2 separate regions of the Homo sapiens genome follow, and region 2 is linked to region 1. The links are contacts of gene promoters, found by promoter capture Hi-C in blood cells and fetal thymus (Javierre and others, 2016). All regions are on one chromosome and are shown on one strand. Each heading gives the region's core, a stretch centred on a gene start or on the middle of the fragment in contact. The rest is flanking DNA. Distances are from core to core; before and after follow the strand shown.

What was found. Contacts are between HindIII fragments. The CHiCAGO score rates a contact against its expected background, and 5 or more counts as called.
Region 2: a contact is called between a fragment that was not itself captured here and the fragment with the promoter of SKAP1 in region 1, in 1 of 17 cell types (endothelial precursors). The highest score is 5.9, in endothelial precursors.

Annotation. Positions count from the first base shown.
Region 1 is chr17:48,427,489-48,433,234 of GRCh38, reverse strand. It overlaps SKAP1 (src kinase associated phosphoprotein 1), which reads left to right and starts at 3,021. Exons shown (of 13, transcript NM_003726.4): 1 at 3,021-3,160. The coding sequence starts at 3,115. RefSeq lists a silencer at 2,848-3,107. The HindIII fragment of the contact is 9,425 bases long and covers 1-4,619 here.
Region 2 is chr17:48,168,726-48,174,688 of GRCh38, reverse strand. It overlaps SKAP1 (src kinase associated phosphoprotein 1), which reads left to right. Exons shown (of 13, transcript NM_003726.4): 10 at 4,030-4,080. Among named protein-coding and RNA genes, the nearest start is that of MIR1203, 15 kb to the right of the region's middle. The HindIII fragment of the contact is 4,519 bases long and covers 861-5,379 here.

The sequences.
Region 1 (5,746 bases), core at 1,772-4,271:
CCCCCAATCAGATTTGGCTTCCTGCGAAATTGGATTTCAAAAAAGGACAAGGCTTCAAAGGAATTTGTCCATTTAACAGAATGTCATTAGGAGTGGGGCTGACTGCTGAAACAGGGTCCTCAGATGATTAAGGAAGGGCTGCGTTCATGTGTGGAGGCAGATTTCTGTCTGCAATGAGGAACCTTGATGCAACATGACAATACCGTATTGGAATCTGCCAGTCACTCACTACATACTACCCGACTGTGCACCTCCCTCTACCCCTGTCTCTCTAAAACCCAGAGATTCTTGTAAGGAAGGATGCATATAGAATACGTACACTGTGAGTTTTTGGTGTAAGTAAGCTATGACAGGCAGTGAAGCCTGCAAAGAAGTGCAATTACCTGGGTTTACTGCTCTTTATCAAACAATTCATTAGCTGGTAGCTTATATTAGTATGTGACACCATATCCTTGAAGAAGAGGGGGAGGTTATCAAATTTTCTTCTGTTGCCAAGAAGGAAAGCAAGGCAAAGTTTAGGTTGACATATGGGGAGACTTTGCTGCCCTTGCTGTATTTTTTGTGTAACAGTTTAGATTTACCAAAAAAAAATTGAGATGATAGCACAGACAGTTCCCATGTATCTTTCCTTGCTTTTTAGTATGCCTCATAAGTACTTCAAAATGATTCTAGAGCAGCTACAATTTTATAGGTGAAGTGGTGAAGTTGGTAAAAATGCCATGGGGGTACCTGGTACTTGATCCCAAGCCTGAAAGGGGTAGTCTGCCCATTGCTATACTTTCTTTCTTTCTTTCTTTCTTTTTTTTGAGATGGAGTCTTGCCCTGTCACCCAGGCTAGAGTGCAATGGCCTGATCTCGGCTCACTGCAACCTCCGCCCCCCGGGTTCATGTGATTCTCCTGCCTCAGCCACCCGAGTAGCTGGGATTACAGGCGTGCACCACCATGCCCAGCTAATTTTTGTATTATTAGTAGAGACGGGGTTTCACTATATTGGTCAGGCTGACCTCAAACTCCTGACCTCGTGATCCGCCTGCCTTGGCCTCCCAAAGTGCTGGGATTATAGGCGTGAGCCACTGTGCCCAGCCACCCATTACTATACTTTCTCAGGGCAGGAAGGAGGATGAGCAGGAGCCAGATACCCCAGAGAGGCTCATGCCAGCCTCTGTCCCCTCACCCCAATTTACTGCAGCTTGTAGGTGGGTCATGTGACACTGAAACCAATGCACCACTGCTTTTCAGATGGCAGGATGCACTGTACTCCTTAAAGGATCACACCCTCATCTTTGAGGCTGTATCTCTGGATGGGAAACAGTACAAGGAGGCAGGCACTTTTATCACACTCATCCTTCTCGATGGTTTCTTCTTACTGCTCTTGCCCCGTCTGCTAGATTGAGTCCATCATTATTCCCCTTATGGCTGTTGTAAAAACCATTTTACCCACTTCCCCCTGTGTCTTTTCCCACCACTCCTAATCTTTTCTACATATTCTGTAGGTTGAGTCTGAGAATAGAAATGCCATTTTTTACAAAGAAGGAAAAAGGCAGAGGTGGAGATGTGTGAGGCCACATACCACCCCGGAGCTCTGGTTAGGTCATTCCCAATCTCAAAAATTGTCAATGGCTCCCCAGTGCCCTCTCAATTAAGTTCAACATTCCTATTCTGACTTTCAAGTCCCTTCACAGTAGAGCTGCAGTTTATCTTGACAACCATAGTCTTTCTACAACATCCAGTAAAAGAGGGCTACTAACTATTCCTCAAGCTGGTGAGGGCTCTTCCATCTTTCTTTACTCTGGTCCTTCCACCTGGAAAGTCCTCTGCCCCTTCAAAGTCTGGTGTGTTTTTCAGAGCCCATCTCAAACACCACATGCACCTTTAAACACTCACATGCACACTGGCACTTCTTTTTATTTTCTTTCTTTTTTAAGAGACAGGGTCTTGCTCTGTTGCCCAGGCTGGGGTACACTGGGGTGATCATAGTTGGCTGTAACCTCAGATTCCTGGGCTCAAGTGATCCTCCTGCTTCAGCCTCCCAAAGTGCTGTGATTACAGGTGTGAGCCACAATGCCTGGCCTCTTCCCTCCTTTTCTGGTATTCAGCTCCCTTCTTTTATCAACCATAGCACTTTATACTTTTTTCATGGCAGTTGACCTATTGTACTTAAAAAACCTCTTTATTTTGAGAATTATAGATTCACAGAGAGTTTCAGAAATAATAGAGGAACTCTGTCTACCTTTACCCAGTTTCCCCCAAGGGTAACATCTGGCACTATTACAGTACCATGTCACAACCAGGACACTGACACCAACTGTCCCTTGAATGAGACCGTGTGATTTTGTCCTTCACTTTCCTCCCTTCCGCAGCTCCTGGAGGGAAAGGGCTCTGTTCTCCTCTCCCTCAGCTTTCTCCCTGTGTTACCCCTTCCTTTCCTCAGGGCCTTTCCATCCTGAGGGAGAACAGCACAGTTTGGTTTCCTGTGTCCCTTGCTGCCACGCTGCCGCGATTCTCCCAAATGTTGGTGTCCTTATATTGCTTATTGGGAATTAATCATTTCCTTTCAACATTGTGGCTTCCCAAAGAGCGAAGTTTTGCCCTCTTTTCTGGGGATGGAGATGTGAACTGGACCGGCAATTGAGGGGTGCTATGCTTGACGGGGATCTCTTCCTTGGATTCTGCCTCCCTGCACCCTACTTCAGGCACCCCGTGGTCTTTCAAATCTGCCACCGTGAGGTCAACTGTTCGGTGCTTAGGATGGAGTGTCCAAAGCCGTGGGTCCTTTGAGCCTTGTGAAGTCTTTTGTTTTGGTGGGTGCTGGAGGGGCGCACCTTTGGCCTCGCACGGTGCGGTGCTTCCGGCACCCCCAATCCTTCTACCGTGGGGCTCCGGCGTGAGCGCCACGTGCACCCACGCCCCGCGCCCCGTTCCGGTCCCCGCCTGCCGCCCGCGCCACTTCCTGACGCGCCCGGGGACCCACGGCCCCGCCCCGCGGCCGGGCTGGGCGGGCGGCGACCGCGGCTGAGGTACAGGTGCCTCGCGGTGCAGCCGGGTCGCCTTCCAGCCCGTCCGCCTCCCGACCAGGGCCCGCGCCCCGTCCCGCCTCTCTCCCGCCCAGCCAAATGCAGGCCGCCGCCCTCCCTGAGGAGATCCGTTGGCTCCTGGAAGGTAACGCCCTGGCGCAGGCCCCCTCCAGTGCTGAGCCGAAGGCCGAAAGGGGACACCAGGCCTCCCACGGCCAGGCTTTCTTTACGGCTTCGTCACTCACCTCCTTCTAGAACCTTAAGGCTTCTAGAGCCCTCAACTCCCTAGAGCCAGCTTTCCATCCTCTCACCTCAGGGCCCCTTTCACTCCCTGGAGTCCCACATCTTCTTTTGCCTTGAGGCACCTCCACGCCTCCACTTCACCTCCCCGGCTTCTAAAGTCCTCAGGCCAGGTTCTTGGTCCCCCATGCCACCTTGCCTGGTCTCCGACCTGTCCCTTTCTCCAAAGGACTGCCCTACATCTGTAGGGTTTCCCGTCCCCCTCCTTCCCCAGCCACGACTTCCTCACCTCTCACAGAAGACCCCAAACCTTCCTGCTTAGAGGTCCCCGAGGCTCTCCAGGGGGCTGCGAGGGGCTCATGGGATCCCCATGGGCCAAGGCCAGGTGGTTGACGTGAGTTTTTGTCAGTGCGAAAACCCCAGCCCTCCCTTTATCACCCTGCAGACGTCTAGGGGTCTCACCCACCCCAAGGCAGGCTCATTCTCAGTATGGGATTTCCTCCTTTTCTAGAAGTGCCCCCATTGTGGTGTGTTCACCTTCCAACTCCCATTGTGGTGTGTTCACCTTCCAACTACAGTGTCTAAGCGGTGGTTTAAAGAGTTCCGGCCATCCCCGTCAACACTCAACACACACTGCCAACACTCCAAAGAGATGTCACAAAGAGACGTTGCTAACGGGCAGTTTCATCTGCTGGGTTTCGTGGTGGAAGTCACTTTTACTTGCTTTCCTGTAACTAACCTTCCAGGGAGGACAGAGGCCTGGAATCTGCAGTCGCATAAGGCTCCCAGGAGGAAACTATTCAGAATTAAGCCTTTTGGCATCTAAGTTGACATAGTTGACACATATTTAACAGACGGCCTGCTTTGGGCAGGTCATATTTTTGGCAAGCAGTATTTTTTTTCAGTTTCTCTCAATTTAATTGGTTTTATATCTCCATTACCTTGTTATCTCGGTATAAATGCCTCCTAATCAAATATTTGGCAAGTCCTTTTGGTCTCTGTCTGTAGCACTATTTCCATTCTGGATTGCTTCTATGTAAAAGCTGTCAGCTAGATATTTCTTTTGAGGTGAGGTTTCCAAAATCCGTTTTACTTACGATCAGAATAAATCTAAATTTTGGGGGTAGAAAACTATTTGCAGGGTAAAAGAGAATTATCTGGGTGTCTAAGAAGAAACAATCCAGCCTTTCCCTCTGTTGTTGGTTTAATATTAGGCTTGTGAAGGAAGGCTGTAATTGTCTTTGGTTTCTAGGAAAGAAGGGACTGTGGCAAAAAGTTTAACTCTGCCCTTGCATTGAAATATATAAACTGATTCTTTTTATTGGTATCTGTCATTTGATGAGAGGAAACCTATTTTATAAGCTTATTAAACTATACTTCAGTTTTGTGTCTAGGCTTGGTAGAAAATTCCTTTTTATTTTCAGAGGCTTGCAATGAAATCCATTCCTTCAGCATTTTTGATGTGCAGTTCTTCATTGTTCAAAACTGACACTTTGGTAAACAACTCATTTCTGCACCTGCCACCTTCCTTTAGCTTAGATTATTTTCTTGTTAGCTGACTGTTTTTAATTGAAGTCTTCAGATCTCCTTCTAAAGCAGAACCTTTGTTTGCTGACAAGTAGAGCGGGGTATGAATGGAGATTAATTGCATGTCGCATACTTCTGTATCAAGCTTGCTGTATCTTAACAATCTCTGTTGGTGCTCAGGTCTTTAAAATATATGGAGGAGTCTGAAACCAAATTATAAGGAGCTTCGTTGGTTAATGTATTTCTTTAAGGCTTTTTTTTTTAAGTTTGCAATTAGAACTTGAATCTGAAGTAGAGAAAAAAATGTAAAGTGTGATTCATCCAGTAATTCTATTGAAAAATGTTTGAAGATATGTTTTTTAAAGGTTCCTGTAATAATAATAGCAATATATTGGTTACAAGTTTTATTTCTTTTGGAACACAGTCGCTGGTGTAGACCAGGAGGATTATTCATTGTGTTACAAATAATCTGTCCATATTAGAAACCCAAAATGGCCATCAATTTGTTGTTTGTTGCTATTTGTCTCCCCCACCACACACTTTTTAAGGTTAACTGTTGACAATTAGAAAAAATGGAGGTCCTGATCTCTATATAGTCACTCTGTGGGAGGGAGTCACAGGATGTGAGGGCTGCAACTCTAGTGCTGCCACATGGCTGTGGGGGTGGGGTTTCCACAATGAATTACTACTTTCATAAACCAAGGCATAAGCATTTGCACAGTGATTTAACACTGGACATCACAGCCATAACTTAAGCATTTATTTATTTATAACTACACAAGCATAAATGACAGGGGCATTTTTTGACATAATGTGTGTGCTTTTAAGAATAAAATATGTAAAGCATTGTGAAAGGTAGATAACAAAATTTTGCATAATGAAGAGAACAGAAATTCCCAAGGCCTAAAATTAATTTTGTTTAAATATAAAATTTGAGACACTTGGAAATGTTTCACTCGACCTA
Region 2 (5,963 bases), core at 1,871-4,370, 260 kb after region 1:
AAGAAATTCAACAAGCTCTTTAGCCTAAAAAATATTTTTCAAAATAGTCTCTTAAAATTAAAGTGTCACATTAAAGATTAATAAAAATGAGAACTTTAGCTATTTAACCCACCCCTTCTTGTGAGCAACAAGACTTTTTTTCTGTTGCCATATAATAGTTGTCTTTGACTCTGGGGTTGCAAAGACACCTGTTCAGTTTCATGGAAAGATCTGAGATAACTTGTATGCCTATTTGTATTGTGCCCTCTGAACCTAGGGAGGTGTCTAGGGGTGTAATTTTCACAACCAGCTGTGAATGGTGTTTTCCTTCACTATGTGACAGTGCCCCCTACCCAGTCTTCCAAAGACCCCAGAGGCATAGCGCCAAGCCCATCAATGGGAAGGCTTCTTGATTTGAGCCTACTTTCAGCCACCTGGGAAGGACGGTGTTAGATAAAACAGATGTGGGGATTGGAGCTTCCCCGTTTACATCCATCATCGTAGAGCTTAGTAATGGCGGTGAATGATATAAAAGCTCTATAGCCAATGTTTTTTTTTTCTTTCTAGTTGATTCCAAAAGTGCAGTGGAAATCAAGAGTAACTGGTCTGGAACTGAACTGCATAGAACACATTTCTATTGTTCCATCTTTGTATTATGACTAGATTAAGTGCTGTTGCCCAAAAGAATAAAGGAATTAAGTTTTAGTTTTCATTTTTATCATTGCAAATACATTTACATTCTCCTATTTTACAAATGCAAAGAGCAGGCAAGCCACTTTCAATAATTTATTTTAAAATCAATGCTAATGAGGTTATGTCTCGTCAGTGGCCGAGTTTTACAATAAAGTCTGATTTATTTAGAAAAGATCTTTGGTGAAGCTTCCCATCTAATGGTGGTGGGAAGGAGGTGGAGTAGCAGCACTGTGACCCTCCAACTTCGGATCCAATTTGTAATTCACAGTGGAGATCTGACCCAATTTACATTGATTAGAATTGGGAGGAAGAGACAGCTGCGCACAGACAGCAGAGGTAGAATAAACCTCTGCAAAAGTGCCTAAGCACAGCAAATTATTGGTCTTTGTGATGGAGTTGTTTGATATCAACAAAAGAGCTGCTCTCTGTCCAAATTATTGGGTATCTCTAAAACTGAGGTTGTACCAACTTTTCCTCTAATGTTTCCAATCCTAAAATTAGTCCCATGTCAAAAAAGAAATGCATCATAGCTGAGAAAGGAAGGAAGTGGACGAGTAACGAGAAGACAATGTGCAAAGAATGTTTAATGTGGTTTATTTCAGCATGATCTGTTTCCTATATTTGATTTCACTCCTCCATTAGCTTAGGTTGTTTTATTCCTCGTGGTAGGGTTGAGGGAGCACTACAGGTGTCAAGTAGAACATTCTCTGCTGCTAGATCATACATGGCTATAAGAACTGTTGAGTCAAAGTGCTCCTTTTCCCATACTATATTGTAGGGCATATATATATATATTTTATTTCCCAGAGTATCCGTCCTTTTTTTTTTTTAGAGACAAGGTCTCGCTCTGTTGCCCAGGCCCAGGCTGGACTGCAGTAGCGCAATCATGGCTTACTGCAGCCTCAAACTCTTGGGCTCAGGCAATCCTCTTGCTTCAGTCTCCCAAGTAGCTGGAACTACAGGTGTGCATCACTGTGCCTAGCTAATTTTTATTTTTATTTTTTATAGAGACAGGGTCTTGCTCTGTTGTCTATGCTGGTGTCTAACTCTTGGGCTCAAGTGATCCTCCCATCTCAGCCTACCAGAGTGCTGGGATTACAGGCATGAGCCACCACACCTGGCCATATCAGTCTCTTTCTTACTTGAAATCAATTACTCCTTTAATGCTTTATAGTATTCTAATATATTTTTATGCTGCTCCTTCTTACCTATGAGCTTGGAGCTTACTTCCCCAGTTTGGCATACCGGAACTCATATTGCCCTATAAACATTACATTTAAAAAAAGAAAGAGAAATGTCAAAGTTTCATTTAGTGGCAAAACTATGGAGAAGCAAGACAAGCAAATGTCATTAAGACTCAGGAGAAAGGAAAGTAAATGTGGCCAGGAGGAGCTGAGTATTCAGCCCTCAAAACATTGCTTACTATACCCTATCTACTGTGCATATGTGTGTATATATGTGTGAGTGAGAGAGTGGGAAAAGAGCATGGTGGTAGTGAAAAGAATAACGAGTGTATTTTTCTTCACTTTGCCCCATGTATAAAATAGCTAAATATGATTCTGGTACACATATTTACATTATAAGGGTCCAATTCCTATTTTATCGGGTAATGTGACGAGATGAAACCGGTTAATGGGAGTAAGAAACTTAGGCCAATTATGTTATGACTTTGACCGTATAAACATTTGACTGGAGTTAGACACTGGCATTGAGTTAGAACCCATTGTGAATCTACGGCAATTAATTAAAAGACCATTCCAGCTACCCTCAGGAGCTTATACTCTAATGAACAAGACATGCTGAATAAAAACAGTAAAAAGATAACTACAAGCCCCAAGTACTAGGAACATAAAATTATGTACATGACCAGCCTCCATTACAGCTGAACAAAGATGGATACATTAAGGATTAAGGACTAATTAATCAAAGAGGGTTTTTTGTTTTTTGTTTTTTCCCCAGGACAGAGTCTTGCTCTGTCACCCAGGCTGGAGTGCAGTGGCACAATCTCGGCTCACTGCAACCTCTGCCTCCTGGATTCAAGCAATTCTCTTGCCTCAGCCTCCTGAGTAGCCGGGGTTACAGGCGCCCGCCACAGGCCCAGCTGATTTTTGTATTTTTAGCACAGACGGGGTTTCACCATGTTGACCAGGCTGGTCTCCAACTCCTGACCTCATGATCTGCCCGCCTCGGCCTCCCAAAGTGTTGGGATTACAGGCATGAGCCACCGCACCCAGCCAATCACAGAGGGTTGTTCACACACACACACACACACACACACACACTCTAACATCCTAACTCTAGAATGCTTAAAACTAGAGAGAATGCTTGCATAGAGATAATAATTTTGAAGAGAATTCCAGAGGGAAGGAGAAATGGAGTTTGAGGAAAAGGATTAGGATTCTGGTGATAGACATCTAAATAATCCAATGGACTGGAAGCTCCACAAGGGCAGGAACTCTGACAGTCTTGTTTATTGCTTGTCCCCAGTTCCTAGTGCAATGTCTTGCATGTAATGAGCACTTCAACATGCTTATGAATAAATGAAAGGGAAGGGAAGGAGAGGGCCAGTTTGAAGGTGACAAATTAATATTTTTTTTAAGAACACAGTAATTGCCAGGCACGGTGGCTCACGCCTGTAATCCCAGCACTTTGGGAGGCCAAGGTGGGCGGATCATCTGAGGTCAGGAGTTTGAGACCAGCCTGATCAACATGGAGAAACCCCATCTTCACTAAAGATACAAAATTAGCTGGGCATGGTGCTGTGAGCCTGTAATCCCAGCTACTCGGGAGGCTGAGCTACTCGGGAAGAATAGCTTGAACCCGGAAGGTGGAGGTTGCAGTGAGTCAAGATCACACCATTGCACTCCAGCCTGGGCAACAAAGAGTGAAACTCTGCCTAAAAAAAAAAAAAAAAAAAAAAAAACAACAGTAATTAAACTTTCCTTAAAGAAGAGAGTATGATGAGCTCAGAGAAAGGGGACCTTTCCGTATAAGGAACATGAGACTGACTGGCTGGACGCAGTAGCTCACACCTGTAATCCCAATACCTTGGGAGGCCAAGGAGGGTGGATCACCTGATGCCAGGAGTTCAAGACCAACCTGGCCAACATAGTGAAACCCCATCTCTACTAAAAATACAAAAATTAGGCGTGGTGGTGGGCACCTGTACTCCTAGCTCCTCAGGGGGCTGAGGCAGGAGAATCCCTTGAACCCCAGACGTGGAATTTGCAGTGAACCGAAAATCGTTCCACTGCACTTCAGCCTAGACAACAGAGCAAGACTCTATCTCGAAAAAAAAAAAAAAGAACATGAGACTGTGAACCACTAATTGCTAATACTGATCATTTATCCCCCCAGATGAAGAGCATGATCTAGAAGAGGATGAGAGTGGCACTCGACGAAAAGGAGGTATAAGAGCTTCTAAATGCACAGGCACTGGGTAGGACATTATGGGCTTCTGATTAGAGAAAGCACCTTTCTCTGAGACTACAAAAATTACTGAACTCAATAATTAAGAGGGTACCTGTGTGTGAACCCCAAAGCCCTAAATAAAGTGACTGGGTAGGGAAATACCTAAACTTTAAAAGCAGCCATACATTCACTTTAATTAATGTTCCCAGAACAGCCAAGATTTATCCTAGAGCGGGTGGGAAGCCAAACCAGACATTTATTTTTTCCTATCAATATTTCTTATATCAGTACAGTGAAAATAGAATTGCCTCATCTCTAAGAGATCAGAGGATTGAGAATGGAAAGAATGGAAATGTCTCCTCTCTGAGAGGCCCGGAGATTGCAAGTTCAGAGGGGAATGGAAATGTGTCAGATCTGAAAAGTGAACACAGGGTGAAAGATAAAATTCCTTGGTGATGCTGACTTCTGATAGCCTGGTTTGATTCCAGGCACATTTGGAAATGAATATGTAACAGGTTTGTTGAATATAAAATTACATCTTATTCATCCCAGACTGTTAACCATGCTTCAGGCTGTTAGTGAGCCCATCCTTTCTAAGGTCAGATGCCCCTCTGAAGCCTCCTTAAGTGGACCAAGGACCTATTCCATGGTTGTCAGTAAAGGAATGCTGCACATTGCAAGGGCCACCTCAAGGACATTCGTTCCGTCGGCAGAGCCCTAATCATGACTGATTTAGATACTGGCTGATATTTTTCTTAGGGAGTCTATGAAAATCTTAAGCCTAGGAATTCTTGCCCTCTTTCCCTCCCTGCTCCTTCTCCATTATCTAGCCCTGTCTTTTCCTATTCTCCTCTCTCCTTTCCTTGTGCTTTTTCTTCTCTCCTTATCCATCCAGCAAAACCCCCATTTCTAGGTTCATTCTCTACAGAAAGTGAATACTTAAAAGGTTCAGGACCCAACTTCCTAAGGGTCCAGCTTCTCCCAGGGAAGAGAAGAGACAACGAAGATGCAGCCTCAGAAGTCATGCGCCAAAGCAGGAGAGAAAGAAAGCAGTGGAGGCGGGTGTGATGCACGGATGTGAGTGTAGCTGCAAGTACCTCATGATAGTGAACACATGTGATTAGGTCCATTCTGAAACCTATTTCCTTCTGTTGTCTACTTACTGTACAGAATTCCAAATGAAAATCTGTTCTGACCCGCCCATGTTCCACATATATCTTTTCTCAACCAACTTCCATCACCAGTGCAGAAAAGAAACACTTCATGTGGACAGCTTGGGTGGAGTAACTGTAAGCTTCCTATGGCCAATTTCATATTAAACTCCATTCAGAAAGCATTGATCTTTTAGCAAAGTCTAGAATCCAGTTTCAGACTCCTCCCTCATCTCATTTCCTCCTTCCACCTCTTTCTCTAAGGTTATATCTGGGAGGTGAGAGGAGATTTATTTCTTAACTGTTCCTACAGCTATAATTCAAGTAGGTTTAAAAAAAAAAAAACCTTTTGTTCCTCATGCTTCCTGCCTCCAAAATAAGTGTTGTTAAAGTATAGCAAGCTCTGAATATGTTTCTATGGTTTACACTTCCCACCAGTTATAATGATTGGTGACTTAGTGATTAAAAAACAGGAGGACTTTTTGCTCTCTCTGCAGAATCTGAGGCAGGAATTTTTATTATTTGTGTTTACTTATTTATCGATTGATTTTATATACTGCCTTTTCTCCAAAGGCGCTATAGAAATGGTGAAAAATACATAAATCCAAATGTCATCATTTAGTTTTGTAACAATAAAAGATAGAGGTCTGGGGGAAGGGCAGGCAGCCCCAGTGAAGGCATTTAAAAGGCAGGGAGCTCTAGGACAGTGTGAATTCCTATGTCATAGAC